Regions from separate parts of the Homo sapiens genome. Here all the other regions are linked to region 3. Evidence: promoter capture Hi-C in 16 types of primary human blood cells and fetal thymus (Javierre and others, 2016). All regions are on one chromosome and are shown on one strand. The core of a region is centred on a gene start or on the middle of the fragment in contact, and the rest is flanking DNA. Distances in the headings are between cores, read along the strand shown.

What was found. The method cuts DNA at HindIII sites, captures the fragments that hold promoters and counts their contacts. A CHiCAGO score of 5 or more calls a contact.
Region 1: the fragment with the promoter of MAB21L4 here is called in contact with the fragment with the promoter of PASK in region 3 in 8 of 17 cell types (naive CD8 T cells, total B cells, non-activated CD4 T cells and 5 more); the score reaches 9.7 in naive CD8 T cells.
Region 2: a contact is called between a fragment that was not itself captured here and the fragment with the promoter of PASK in region 3, in 1 of 17 cell types (neutrophils). The highest score is 5.2, in neutrophils.
Region 4: the fragment with the promoter of UICLM here is called in contact with the fragment with the promoter of PASK in region 3 in 4 of 17 cell types (naive B cells, total B cells, naive CD4 T cells and 1 more); the score reaches 8.4 in naive B cells.
Region 5: a contact is called between the fragment with the promoter of SNED1 here and the fragment with the promoter of PASK in region 3, in 2 of 17 cell types (naive CD4 T cells and non-activated CD4 T cells). The highest score is 6.2, in naive CD4 T cells.

Annotation. Positions count from the first base shown.
Region 1 is chr2:240,894,857-240,897,556 of GRCh38, forward strand. It overlaps MAB21L4 (mab-21 like 4), which reads right to left and starts at 1,300. Exons shown (of 5, transcript NM_001085437.3): 1 at 628-1,300. The coding sequence starts at 1,141. RefSeq lists enhancers at 1-563, 1,836-2,471. The HindIII fragment of the contact is 9,523 bases long and covers 1-2,700 here.
Region 2 is chr2:241,347,624-241,350,323 of GRCh38, forward strand. It overlaps SEPTIN2 (septin 2), which reads left to right. Exons shown (of 13, transcript NM_004404.5): 11 at 511-568; 12 at 2,450-2,580. The coding sequence ends at 2,551. Among named protein-coding and RNA genes, the nearest start is that of FARP2, 7.3 kb to the right of the region's middle. The HindIII fragment of the contact is 2,849 bases long and covers 7-2,700 here.
Region 3 is chr2:241,148,036-241,150,735 of GRCh38, forward strand. It overlaps PASK (PAS domain containing serine/threonine kinase), which reads right to left and starts at 1,437. Exons shown (of 18, transcript NM_015148.4): 1 at 1,379-1,437. PPP1R7 (protein phosphatase 1 regulatory subunit 7) reads left to right here and starts at 2,432. Exons shown (of 10, transcript NM_002712.3): 1 at 2,432-2,512. The coding sequence starts at 2,461. RefSeq lists enhancers at 391-550, 2,064-2,223 and silencers at 804-853, 904-963, 1,024-1,383, 2,514-2,700. The HindIII fragment of the contact is 12,026 bases long and covers 1-2,700 here.
Region 4 is chr2:240,966,100-240,968,799 of GRCh38, forward strand. UICLM (up-regulated in colorectal cancer liver metastasis) reads right to left here and starts at 1,352. Exons shown (of 9, transcript NR_033841.1): 1 at 1,228-1,352. It overlaps CROCC2 (ciliary rootlet coiled-coil, rootletin family member 2), which reads left to right. Exons shown (of 32, transcript NM_001351305.2): 25 at 126-310; 26 at 1,246-1,366; 27 at 2,030-2,163. The HindIII fragment of the contact is 9,726 bases long and covers 1-1,448 here.
Region 5 is chr2:240,997,295-240,999,994 of GRCh38, forward strand. It overlaps SNED1 (sushi, nidogen and EGF like domains 1), which reads left to right and starts at 1,324. Exons shown (of 32, transcript NM_001080437.3): 1 at 1,324-1,756. The coding sequence starts at 1,544. RefSeq lists a silencer at 956-1,375. The HindIII fragment of the contact is 12,687 bases long and covers 80-2,700 here.

The DNA.
Region 1 (2,700 bases), core at 50-2,549, 250 kb before region 3:
GAAGCCCAGCCTCAGAGCCCACTTGGGGCTCAAGACACCAATAGACAACTCAGCCATAAGCTGATAAGACACGGGCACACACCTGCACACGCATTCACACCCCTGCACTCACGCGCACGCAGGCAGGCACACACACACCCCTCCCACCTGGTGCAACATCATCAGACACTGGAAGTGGGCACGGGATGGCCTCGGGGAGCCTCGAGGTCACAGGCTGTGACTGGCAAGAGAGCCGCCTGCCCAGAGCCGTGTGAGGGACCCTCCTGCAAGGCCACCAGTGAAGCAGCTGCCCCAGACTCCAGCCACTGGACGACTGGCAGCCGTGGAACCCCCGTGCAAACACACACGACACGGAACACGTCATCTGTCTTGTTACAGGCATTTGGAGCTGGAAGACCTAAGTGAGGTCTCCCGACTTCTGTGCCCCAACACACTGTTCACACTTGCACAGTGTCACACACGTGCACACATGCCTGTGCGTGCAGTCACACACAGAAGACAGTCGCCACCCTGTGTGCACGTACATGGCAATCACACACATGTGCACTCACACACTTGCACACAGACACCCACACAGCAGCCCCTCGGTACACGCAGATACGCGTGCAGAGTGGGCTGTGCCTGTACCTGGTGCGATGAGACTGTGGTGCTTGCAGTGTACGATGGCTGCTACCAGCAGGTCCTTGAGGACACACAGGACCTTGCTGGGCACAATGTGTCCACGGCACTTGGCGTCACCCTCCGAGGAGGCAGTGAAGGTATCCTCGGTGGTCCACCGCTCCAGGCCAGCCCCTTCCCTGGGCACACCCAGGTGGCATAATTCAAGGCCATCCTCCGGCTGGGTGGCCTCTGGTTCCTCAATCAGTAGAGCCTCGGCATCCACCCACAGGGGCACCTCCATGTCCATTGGGTCCTCAGAGGAGCGCAGGGCGAACTGGAAGGCCTCCAGGCCACGGGAGTAGTCCACGATGAAGCGGGGGTCCAGGGCATGCACGCGCTCCAGCACCGTGAGCAGCACGTTCTCTGCGCGCTGGAAGTCCTGGGCACGCGGCGCCTCCCGGGACCGGATGGCCTGCAGGTAGTGGTGCCACAGGGGCACCTGCACGGCCATGGCTGAGGTGGGGAGAGCAGGGGCAGGCATCCCTTCAACAGTGGCAGGTGAGGGCCAGTGGCCCCTGAGGAGGACTCCGCAGGCCAGCTGTGCAGATGGGCTGTGAGGAGGCACCTGCCCAGGTGAGCAGCAGGTCTGCAGGTGGGGCCTCAGCTCCCACACAGCAGAATTCCAGAGTGACAGCACAGTGTGGCAGGTGAAATAGCTGAACTATTTAAGGCCTTTGAAGTGGGGGTGAGTCAGTCCCCAGCAATTGGGAATGTCACAGGGGCCATGCAGGGCAGGCGGGGGCTGGGTTTGGTTACCACCCTCCTCCCTCCCTTCAGAAGAGCTCTCTCATCTTAGGCCCAAGGCACGGCCCCTGTCCCAGCCAGGCTTGGGGTCCCTGGAGAAATATTGCCGCTGGACTGTGCCGTCCCTGGGATGGGAGCCTCTGTGTGTTGCTGATGGGCCTCCTTCCACCCTCCTCCCCACAGCCCAGGGGCCGGGTATCTGGATCAGGCCCCCCTGCCCCAGCCTCCCTGCCAGGTTGGAGGGAACACAAGGCACCCCGTGGCTCAGTGAGGAAGGGGAGGCAGGGCGGTGGCTGCCCAGACCCCGCTGTGGGGGAGCCCCCGACTCTCTAAGGCTGCCTGGAAGGCTGGGAACCTGGAGGCTGCGTCTCTGCAATGTTCCCCTCAGACACCTGTGCCCGGCTTACAGGCTGCAGTCCTGGCATGGCTCCTGCCTCTGCCCCAGCTGTGCATCCAGCCATCTGGGCCCTGGACCCCTGGGCTACCAGTCCCCACCCCACCCCACCCCACCCTGCCCAGCCTCCAACCTGAGAGGAGCTGGCACCCACCTAGCCTGGGAGCTGGAGCTCGTCTGGTTCTGGAGAAAAGCAGTCTCCGTGGCTCCACCTCACCCAGGTGGAGAAACTCGCCCCACCATCCCCCTCCAGCACCTGCACCAGGTACCCTGCCAGCCCCGCCCCCCTCCCCTGCTCAGGGCCGTGCAAGTCCCAACCAGCAGGGAGCCGCCCCATCGACCCTTGGCCCTGCCAGCTGGCCGAGTGCATCGGGTGCTCAGCCACAGGGGTGTCTGCAAACAGTGAACATGGAGATGGCCCCACAGGGGCGTCGTGGAGATGCTGCCCCTGTAGCCACCGCACGTGGGCCTCTCACCCCCCGGGGAGCTGCATCTGAGTCAGAGCTGTGGGCAGAACCAGGATCCCAGGAGGGGTGGGGCAGGGGGCAACAGCCACTCACTTCCTGGTGCTTGGAAGCCCCTATGAGGGGCTGCAGCCCAGTGAGCGGGTCTCTGCTTCCATGCCTCCCAGGACAGGGAGCTCACCACCTCACAGGGTAGCCCACGGTCAAGCGAGAGACAGATATCCCTCCTCCAAGCTGGCCCACTCCTGTTCCCTGGAGTTGCTTAGAGCACGTGTCCCCCTCCCCGAGGGCAGCCATTCAGGTTCAAGGCCCCATTTGTCCTGGGCCCTCACCCACGGCCTGCCTAGGTCCCCACACACAGCCGTGTGCCACACTCCTCCATCTCCACAGGACTCTGGCCTGGGGGAGGTGGACGCTGCTGCAGGGCAGCTGGGGTCC
Region 2 (2,700 bases), core at 181-2,680, 200 kb after region 3:
CGCTCAAGCTTAGAGTAAGAAAAGTCTCTTGAATGTTCCATTTCATGTTGTTCGAACTTTTTAAAATCATTCTGTTCCCTTTTTATTCATTATATCTTTAATTAGAAAAATGATAGGCTGGGCGTGGTGGCTCATGCCTGTATTCCCAGCACTTTGGGAGGCCAAGGTGGGCGGATCACTTGAGGTTCAACACCAGCCTGGCCAACGTGGCAAAACCCCATCTCTACTAAACACAAAAAAAATTAGCTGGGCGTGGTAGCACGTGCCTGTAATGCCAGTTACCCAGGAGGCTAAGGTGGGAGAATTGCTTGAACCTAGGAGGTGGAGGTTGCAGTGAGCCAAGATCATGCCACTACACTCCAGCCCGTGCGACAGAGTGAGACACCATCTCAATATAAAAAGAGAAATGATAAATACATGTCATTTTAAATTTTAAAGTAGAATTTTTTGGGGGGGTAGCAAATAACTATTTGTTGCAGTGTTATGATTCTGATTTCTTTCGATTCTTAGGAAAGTGGAGAATGAGGACATGAATAAAGACCAGATCTTGCTGGAAAAAGAAGCTGAGGTAAGTAGGAAAGTACTATTGGTTGGTTGGTTGGTTGGTTGTTTTGTTTGTTTTGAGACAGAGTTTTGCACCATTGCCCAGGCTGGAGTGCAGTGGCGTGATCTCGGCTCACTGCAACCTCTGCCTCCCGGGTTCAAGTGATTCTCCTGCCTCAGCCTCCCGAGTAGCTGGGACTACAGGTGCCCGCCACCATGCCTGGCTAGTTGTTTTTGTATTTTTAGTAGAGACGGGGTTTCATCATGTTGGCCAGGCTGGTCTCGAACTCCTAACCTCAGGTGATCTGCCCACCTTGGCCTCCCAAAGTGCTGGGATTACAGGTGTGAGCCACCGTGCCCAGCCAAAAAGTACTATTCTTGTGACTGAAGGTGTTTTGTTTACATCCGTAGATATCATTGGTAATTAACTTAAAGTTTATAGTTTTTTTTTTAATTTGTTGAGGAGGATACATATAACTACTTTATTACTATATATACACATCTATATATAATAATAAACATGGATATTTACATAGCATACATGATGCTTCATATATTTAGCTGAAAGACTTTGGAGACAATTTAGTAATGTCACTGATATTTGTAAGTAGATCATAAATATGGAAATATGCTCTGTTGTAAAGGTGGCATTCAGATCTGCTGGAGTTTTGGAAGGCAAACACATTATTCAGTAAACAATAGGATCATAATGGGCTAGCCTTTTGGAAACAAAAAGAAAATACTTCTTTGGTCAAATTAATTCAATATTGATCAAATATTTAAATGTTAAAAATAACCACAAAGTCACCTGAAGAAAATTTAAATGTTTTATAATACTTTCCTGGAGGCATTTCTGAACACATACAAATCATAATGATAAGGATAAAGATGAATTAACATTTACTATTTTTGGCCAGGCACTGTGGGTTACACTTATAGTCCCAGCACTTTAGGAGGCCAAGGTGGGAGAATCACTTCATGCCAGGAGTTTAAGACCAGCTAGGGCAACAGAGTGAGACCCCCCTCGTTCTCTAGAAAAAAATTAAAAAATAATTAGCCATGCATGTCGGCATGCACCTGTAGTCCCAGCTACTCGGGAGGCTGAGGCAGAAGGATCCCCTGAGCCCAGGAGTTCAAGGATGCAGTGAGCTATGATTGTGCCACTGCAGTCTAGCCTAGGTGAAAGAGCAAGATCCCATCCCTTTAAAAAAAAAAAAATATATATATATGTATATGTATGTATATATATTATTTTTATTGTGAGGCCTTCATTGCCCTCCAGAAAAGCTGATTCATTCCCATTCCCCTTTACTTTGCATTTCTCACTGTCATCAGTCTCTTTCCCTCCTTTTAGGTTAGAAAACTTCTCATATTGGCCGGGCGCGGTGGCTCACGCTTGTAATCCCAGCACTTTGGGAGGCGGAGGCGGGTGGATCACGAGGTCAGGAGTTTGAGACCAGCCTGACCAATGTGGTGAAACCCCGTCTCTACTGAAAATACAAAAATCAGCTGGGCGTGGTGGTGTGTGCCTGTAATCCCAGCTACTCAGGAGGCTGAGGCAGGAGAATCGCTTGAACCCGGGAGGCGGAGGTAGCAGTGAGCCGAGATTGCGCCACTGCACTCCAGCCTAGGAGACAGAGTGAGACTCTGTCTTAAGAAAATTTATCATATTGTCTTATCTTTCTTTGGTTATTGTTTCTGTTTGGCTTGCATATTCGTATCATTTACTTGATTTTCTCTTTAGCTGTTGCTTTTTTTATTGATTGGTAAAAAGTCTTTATGTAATAACTCCTGTCATATTTTGGGAAGGTGTAGAAGTTGAAATTTTAGGAATCACAGAACACCCAGAAATAATGTTCAAAGACAGCAAACCTTGAAAACCTATAATGTGTGTGTGTGTTCACAGCTCCGCCGCATGCAAGAGATGATTGCAAGGATGCAGGCGCAGATGCAGATGCAGATGCAGGGCGGGGATGGCGATGGCGGGGCTCTCGGGCACCACGTGTAAGGTGATGTGCACATATCAAGAAGTCAGAGGTAGGCCCTGTTGTCCCTTAGCCTGGAAGACAGGCAGTTACTAACATTGTGTCAGCTTAAATATGACAGGTTCCTCCTTAAGCCTCATTAATATTTTGCATTTTGAAGTAACTCCATCAC
Region 3 (2,700 bases), core at 187-2,686:
ATGACCTTAGATCACTAAATTTTGACTCAGACGTTAACCAGAAATACCTGCACGTCCAGGCCCAAATTTTTAAAATTGTCCTTTGTATCCACTGTGAGCTGCAGACACGGGAACCCAAACCCAGCAGACAGCACCTAATGGTGCCACCGAGTAACCATATTCCCATTGCTAGTTTTGATTCCAGAAGACACAAGTGACCCCACCTCAGACCAAACAGAAGCAAGGACAACTTTGCAGGGAGCATCTCGGCGAACTTCTAGAAGCAACTGTCCCCCTCCCACCAGAACATAAGCTAAGAAGCAAACAGCTCCCATTGCTGTCAGCACAGCTGTACAACAAAAAGGAGAACCAGTTTCAGGATGAGGCCAACAAGGTGAACAGTGCAGTAGAACACAGCAAGGATGTCAGTCCTGGAGGAGGCACCTGCAGAGCCGGGCCCTACCAAGCAGAGTGAAGAAGTCTTTCAGAGGCAAAGCCTCCCAGAGAGGAGTTCAGTACCCAGAAGAGTAGGTGGACGTGGGCCTGGAAGGGCCAAGCATGAGCCCAGAGCCTCCTATGCCTGCCCAAAGTCTTAATTTTATCCCCAAAATGAACTTTTAAGGATTCAATGCTTAGGAGTAACATGGCCAGATATGCATTTTACAAAGATTACTCCAGGGACCATGTCGGTGCAAGGCTGGAAAGCAGGAGAAAGGCTACAGTAATCCAGGCAAGAAATTATAAAGTCTTAAATTAAGGTAGCAGCAGAAAGATGAAGAGAGGGAACCCCTAAGAGAAAAATGGACATCGAATGGTACTGAGATGCGGAAGGTAAGGACGAGAAAGGCCTCAAGACGGCAGCGCAGGCCCCTGCCGTACTCTGGGAAAGAAAAATTAGTGAAAAAATTAAGGCTCAAGTCCAGGTCTTTGCTGTAACCACGAGCGCCGGCGGCGCGCGCCCCCGACCCCGCGGCGCCGGCTGAGCCCGCAGGGACCCACACGCCCAGTGCAGGAGGCTGGCGGGATCCGGGCTGGTTCTCCTGGAGCTCGCCCCGCAGGGCCGGCTGCGGTGAAGAGAGCGCAGGGTCCCGAGGCGACCCGAGGCGCGGGGCCTCGGCGCCCACCGGGCAGGCTACACTGAAGGGCACCCCGAAGACGCTGGGGGCGCGGGGCCCAGGGCCAACGGCCGCAACCCCGCCGCGATTTGGGCACGGAGAGGACGCGGGCTCGGCGGTGCGCGAAGGGCGACGGGCGCAGGGGCGGGAGACCCGGGGTCGGGCTGGTCTAAGAGTCGGGCGGCGGATCCTCCTGGGCCAGGGGCGCGGAGCCGCGCAGGCCCCACAGCCGCCCTGGGGAGATGGCGGAGCCCGGCCCGCTCTCCCGAGCGCAGGTATCTCACCTGGATCAGGCGAGGGTCACGCCAAGCCGGCTACACACCACGGAAAGGAGCCCTTCCGCGCTTTTATCCCACCGACCAATCGCACAGCGACTAGCACCGATTGACAAGCTCCACGGACCAGCCACTTGCGCGTATGGGCGGGACTAAGCTAGCCAGAGTCTAGAAGCCCGCGCTAAGGGTTGCTAGGGACGCACCAAACACCCCTACGGCGCTTCGGAGGAGCCAAAGGAATAATGGGCGCCTCCGCCCCCGGGCCGGGCAGATGCGGTTTCCTCCCGACTCGCGATCAAAATGGGTGAGTAGCGCAGAGCTCGCCTCTTGGAGGCCTCTTTCTGAAGGCGGAGGACGCGGGGCGGCTCGTTCATGGGCCGGGTGGCTCCGCAGGGTAGACGAAGGCTGCAGCGTCCGCACTGGGCTGGGAACGACTTGCAAGGGGAGCCCAGCTGGCGCCCCGGAGCCAGCCAGCTGGCTAGCGGCCCCACCAGCGCAAGTGCCCCGCACCTGCCCGCCTGCTCCGAGCGTCAAGAGAAGGCGGCATTTCGCATGGGTAAAATCCGCGCGGGGACGCCGGGAGAATGTTGTTGCTCTTGCCGTTCGGCCCATTGTACAGACGCAGCCAGCGAGGCTCGCAGAGGTCAGGGATGCACGTAGGACTGGCCCGCACCTTGCAGCCACGGAAAGATCCGCCTGGCCCGCGGCCCCTCCACGCCTCCGAGGTCGAGACAGTGACATAAGTCAACTCTCAAGCCCAGGGCGTCTCTCCACTCTGCCTAGACGTCCACTCCGTCTGCCTGCAGCTACGGCTCTGTGCGTCCCGCTTCGACTCCCTCTGCTTTCCTTCCCAGCTTCTCGCCTCCAGACTGTTCCGGCTCCGCCGCCTGAAATTACCTGCTCTGGGGGAGGCGCGGCGCGCGGCCTCATGACGGAACTACAACTCCCATGAGGCGCTGGGCCCACGCAGGCGCGGCGCGGCTGAAGTCGCCGCGCCGGAATCCCATTGGCAGGGCCGGCTCTGAGGCGGGAGCCCTGATTGGCTGAGGGGTCTGAGGCGACAGATTCCGGAAAGGGGAAGAGCAGCCAACATGGCGGCGGAACGCGGCGCGGGGCAGCAACAGTCGCAGGAGATGATGGAGGGTGAGCGGCCCCTGCGGGCGGCGGCCCAAGGGCCCAGCGGGCGGGGGGAGCTGCGGGCTGGAACTGCTCCGTGCCTGAGAGAAACTCCACGTCCTGCCTCTGGCCGCCGCCGCGCGGCCCCCTGACAGCTGACAGCCGGACCCGGGGGAGCGGGGGAGGCGCTGGACCTCGGGGGAGCCCCGGCCCGG
Region 4 (2,700 bases), core at 102-2,601, 180 kb before region 3:
CAATTGTAGGAACCTGTGGCCGTCTCCCCAACCTCCCATGGCTGGGGCAGCAGAGAGGAAAGGGGAAGGGCGTGTATCTGTCACTGTGTTCCTGTCCACGACCCCTCCGCTGTCACCTCCCGCAGGCTCCGACAGCTCCCAGGCTCTCCCTGGGCAACAGGGTACCAGCCCCCCAGCCAGGCCCCACTCGCCCCTCCGATGGCCCTCGCCCACACCCGGAGGCCGCAGCTCAGAGCTCATGGATGTGGCCACCGTGCAGGACATCCTGCGGGACTTTGTGCAGAAGCTCCGGGAAGCCCAGCGGGAGCGGGTAATGGGGGCTGGGGTCCTCCCGCCCACGGCGGCACCCCCCGGGGGTCTCTGGGAAGAACACCTGCTGTCCATCCATCCGCGCGTCCCTGGGTCTGAGGGTCAGTGTCCAGGCCGTCCTGTTTGTTGTGATAAACACCAGCACCACCATGGCCCCCAAGCCCAAGTGCCTTGGGTGGCTGGAGGCCGCCCCCTTCCTTATACCAGGCTGAAAAGCCCCTGGAGCCAGGCCCTGCTGTGACACCCACCAGGGCCCAGGGTAGGGCATTCTGCAACTCATGCCACCCCTGAAGAGCTGCCGGGGCTGGGCAACTGCAGGACAGAGCCAGCAAGCTCCCCTCAATGCTCCCAAAGACCCCTCCGGTGGGGCCAAGCTCCCCAGTGGCTGCTCCTGGCTTCAGGGCTCCCACAGAACCACCCGTGAGCGGCCCCCTCCCACCTCGCTGGATGACTCCAGTGGGCAGGACTGTGGGAAAGACAGAGGCAGGCCCTGAGCCCTGGCCAGGGTCCTCTGTGCACACTCCTTCCCTTCGGGCCCACCCTCCCACCGCTGCCAGCCCCAGGGGGCAGGGTCCCGTCTGCACTCAGCCCCAAGTCCCGCCAGGGGCAGCCCCTACCGGTCCCCCTGACCACAGGCTGTGGGCCGCCACCTGCCAGCTCTCCCACACCACACCTGTGCTTGAAACCTGGACCCTTTAGGCCGAGTCTCACTGGGCGCCTCCACCTCCCCAGGCCTGCAGGTCAGCGCAGCTTCCCAGTGTGATCACCTTCCCCGCACCTTCCCCGAGCCCACGGCCCACACCACCCACTGCCCTGCCCTGCACACCTGCAGGCCAGACCGTGAGCGGCCCCAGCTGGCCCCGACCCTCTAGCAGACACCTTGGCCCTCCACCCGCCCATTGGACTGCCCCCGCTGACCTCAGTCCTTCTGCCCAGGATGACTCCCGCATCCAGATGGCGACCCTGAGCAGCCGGCTGAGCGAGGCAGAGTGCAGGTGTGCCCGGGCCCAGAGCCGCGTGGGGCAGCTGCAGAAAGCCCTGGCTGAGGCGGAAGAAGGTGACCTCCCTTGCCCTGCCCCGCCCACCCTGGGAGTGGCTGTGAGAGTGGCACCACCATGTCCCCACTGCTGCCGGCTATAAGCTTTCAGTCCCTGGGGCAGCTCGGTGGGAAGGGAGCCTGGGGGCAACACCCAAACCACCAGGCCTGGCGAGGCTGGGTCAGCGCTTGGCATCGGAGTTCTCAGCAGCGACTTCCCCAGCACAGAGGAGTGACGTCCACAGGCCCATCAGGGCCCTCCCGATCCGGCCCCCAGCATCCTCTGCCCCCCTGCCCCACCCTGGCCTCCTGCAGTTCCCACTGGGGGCCTTTGCCCTGGCTGTGCCCTCTGCCTGGCACCCTCTCCCCCAGACAGCCACACGGCTCTCCCCGGGCAGGCCCTGCCCCTCGTCACCCCCTCAGAGAGGCCCCTTCCTTCTGCCCCCCACTGCCTCACACTCACGAGTTTCTCTGCTTATTGCCCCTCAATTAAAGGAAAGAGGCAGGAGGGAAGGATGGGTGGGAAGCCGGGACCCTGGGGCAGCCCCAGGACCCTTGAGCTGCAAGGATGGACCCCCACCTCCACGTGGGAGCCAGTCACTCAAGTCCACAGAGCCCTGCATTGCCTGCCTGTGACCTGGGAGGGGCATGGGGGCCCCTCAAGCCACCCTGCTTGCCCCACAGGCCAGCGCCGGGTGGAGGGCGCGCTGAGCAGCGCCCGGGCAGCACGTGCCCTGCAGAAGGAGGCGCTCCGCAGGCTGGAGTTGGAGCACCTGGCGAGCGTGCGTGCGGCAGGCCAGGAGAAGCGGCGGCTGCAGGTGGGGCAGGCGGCAGGGTGGGTCCCAGGTGGGGCACAAGAACAAGGCCTCTCGGTCACCCTCACACCCTGCAGGGAGGCCACAGGGCCGGGAGGTGGGAGAGAGGGGTCTGCAAGGGCTTCTGTGGGTGTTCGGGGCTGGAGCCAGCCCGGTGGGGCCCTGGGGCAGAGGTGCAGGCTGGGCTGTGGCAGGCGGCTTTGGGGTCATCGGGACTGGGGTCGTCCTTAGCAGAGCTGTCCTTACGGTGGTTCTAGCCCTTGTTTTACAGGTTGGGGAAACTGAGGACTTGGCCCTGGGGGCACAGCGAGTGGGGGGCAGAGCCCCAAGTCTAGGCCCTTTCTTCTTGCTGAGGCCACAGCGGCAGGCATGGGGCGGCCCTGGCCCAGCCTTGGGGCTCTTTATAGGGTCACACTGTCCTGCTCCAAGACCACTTTTCATTCCATGTGGCTCAGACACAGAAGGGGCCTCTCAGGAAGGGCTGAAGTCAGTGTCCCTACATGCCAGGCTTTGTGCTGGGGAGGTGCCCGCTGGGTCTGA
Region 5 (2,700 bases), core at 74-2,573, 150 kb before region 3:
CCTTCCCCTCCCAGGCCCAGTTTGCCTCTCTGCAAACAGAATTGCCACCCCATGCAGGGTGGGAGAGGCGCCAGGGGCAAGCTTTCAGGAGGTGCCAGTGCAGGGTCAGCTCCTCCTTAACAATTCTGCACCCGGCCCTGACACCAAGTCTAAAGGGTCATGAACCTCTGAGTGAAAACACCAAGTGCAGGATCTGTGAGAACCGGCAACACCCAGTCACACGCAGAGAACCCTCCGCTGCTTCTTAAAAATAACATTGACTGTGCCTGGCTCTCACTGAAAAACAACACGTGCTCACTTGAGATATTTCAGAAGATACAAACGCAAAGACAAACAAAAAACCACCCAGCACCTCAGTGGTAGATGCAGTTACCATCAGCCCGGCCTTTCCTGCTTGTCTTCGAGGGGTGCACTCTTATCTTTGGGGGCCCCAGTGTGGCACGCAGCCAACACCACCCAACACCAGGATCTAAGAGAAGAGACCACGGTGGGCCGGGTGAGTTCCAGGAATCAGACCCTGCCATGGGCCTGGGGACATAGAGGTGGTCCCGGCTGAGGCCCTGAGGAAGGACAGACAGGCAGCCCAGGCCAGCAGCCCAAGAGACAGGGGGCAGGGCTGGCAGGCCACAGGGTGGGGACCCTGAATTCAAATACTGGGACTCAGAGTCCTGCCCCCACCTGCCAAGGCCGGTGTCATGCACGCACTTGCCCCCAGGGCCTGAGTGGGTCAGTCTTCCCCACGGAGGGTTTGCTTTACCCAGGGGTCGCCCCGAGGTCCCGAGCCTCCCAGGAATTTCTCCTGATGCGGCCACGCAGATGCAAACACTTTGTTCCATGCCTCCTAGTCTCCGGCCCGGGCTCTTCCTCACACAGACCCAGGCAGGGAGTGGGCTCCGGGGTTAGTCTGCCCCTGTGGCTGGAAGCCTGGCGTCCCCATGCTCAGGGCTGGGAAGGGGGCAGCACGGAACGGGTTCATTCAGGCACTGCCTGGCCAGGGTCCCCTCCCGCCCCCCGCGTGATGACACGCCTTCAGGGCGGGCCCAGCGTCTCAGGCCTTAGGGACACAGGTCTGTCCCAGGACGGCACTGAGGGCCCAGGCGCCTCCACCAGGGTAGGGACCCAGGGCGGAGCATGGCCCCACCACAGGGCGCGCGCCCGCAGAGCCCTCACCTTGCCTGTGCCCACGCCAGGGGACTGAGCTCCCCGCGCGCCCGCGCCCTCCCACGGGGCCTGGCGCTTTAAGAGACGCCCGATTTGCATGGCCCCGCCCCCCCGAGTGACCGCCGGGCTGGATATTTAAATCGTGGCCCCAGGGGCGGGGCTGGCCCCGAACGCGGTCCCGCCCGGCGCTTTCCTCTGCGGAGCTGCGGCGAGAGCGCGGCCCGGCCGAACGGGCGCGGGACGCGGAGCCCCCGACGGCGCGGCCAGCGGGCGCGCCCGCGCTCCCCGCACCCCGCCTGGCCCTGCCGGCCACCCCCGCGCGCAGCCTAGTCCCCCAGCGCCCTGCTCCGCCAGCGCCCCGTCCCGCCCGCACACCTCCGCGATGCGGCACGGCGTCGCCTGGGCGCTGCTGGTGGCCGCGGCCCTGGGGCTTGGGGCGCGCGGGGTGCGCGGCGCGGTGGCCCTTGCCGACTTCTACCCGTTCGGCGCCGAGCGCGGCGACGCCGTCACCCCCAAGCAGGACGACGGCGGCTCGGGGCTGCGGCCGCTCTCGGTGCCCTTCCCGTTCTTCGGTGCCGAGCACTCCGGACTCTACGTGAGTAACCCCCGGGCTCGCGGGGCGCCCGGGAGGGGAGGGAGCTGCGCCCCGGCCGCTGCCCGCCGGGCCCGGACTCCCGCCGCCGCCGCCAGCCACTTGGCACCGGGGCGGCCCGAGGTGGAATGAGGACAGCGCTTCCTCCTCGGCGGCCAAGGCCGGACAGCGGCCCGCGGGAGAGGCGCGCGGGCGGGGCGGGGGCGGCAGCCGCCGGGCACCGAGGCGGGGGCGAGTGGAGCGCGGCGCCCCGGCCCCTGCCAGACCTGCCGAGCGCGTCTTCCCGGCGCCTGATTCCCAGGGGAGAGCAGGGGTCCTGGTACTGCCCTGGTTTTCACACATGGCAATGTGGCCGTGGGCACGGGCTTCCCGGGCCTCAGTTTCCCAAGTGGGGCGCCGGGCCTGCGAAGGTTGCAGCCCCTCCTTGGGCCATTTCAGCCCCGCCCCCCGTGGACGCCAGTGCGGCCCAGAGCCAGGAGGCTGGACCCCTTGCCCAGGCGCTCAGGGCAGGGCCTGCTTCTTCGCTGACCCTCCTAGGCGGGCTAGCAACAGGCTTGCCCCTCCCTGCCGTCCTCTCCGCAGTCTGGGGGCTGGCCGCTCAGGCTCAGACTCTCCAAACAGGACTCCCAGTGGGACTCCTGGGGCCAGGGACTCATGACAGCAGGCTCAGCTCAGCTGAAGGAACAGGCCCGAGTGCCGGTTCTGTCTCCATGGCTCCCAGAGTGTGACCCCAGGCCAAGCCCTTATGGCAGCCCAGGGAATGAAATGCACCTGGTAACTGCATGGAGCACTCGCCCTGAGTAGGCCACGGTGCACTGGTACCTGGTGGTTCCCTGAAACACCCCAGATCATATCTAGAAAACTGCTGGGCCAGCCTCAAGTAGAGTCCCCTCCAGCTCCGTCACCACGGCCACCTCCACCATCAGCCCTCTCATACCCTCGCCCAC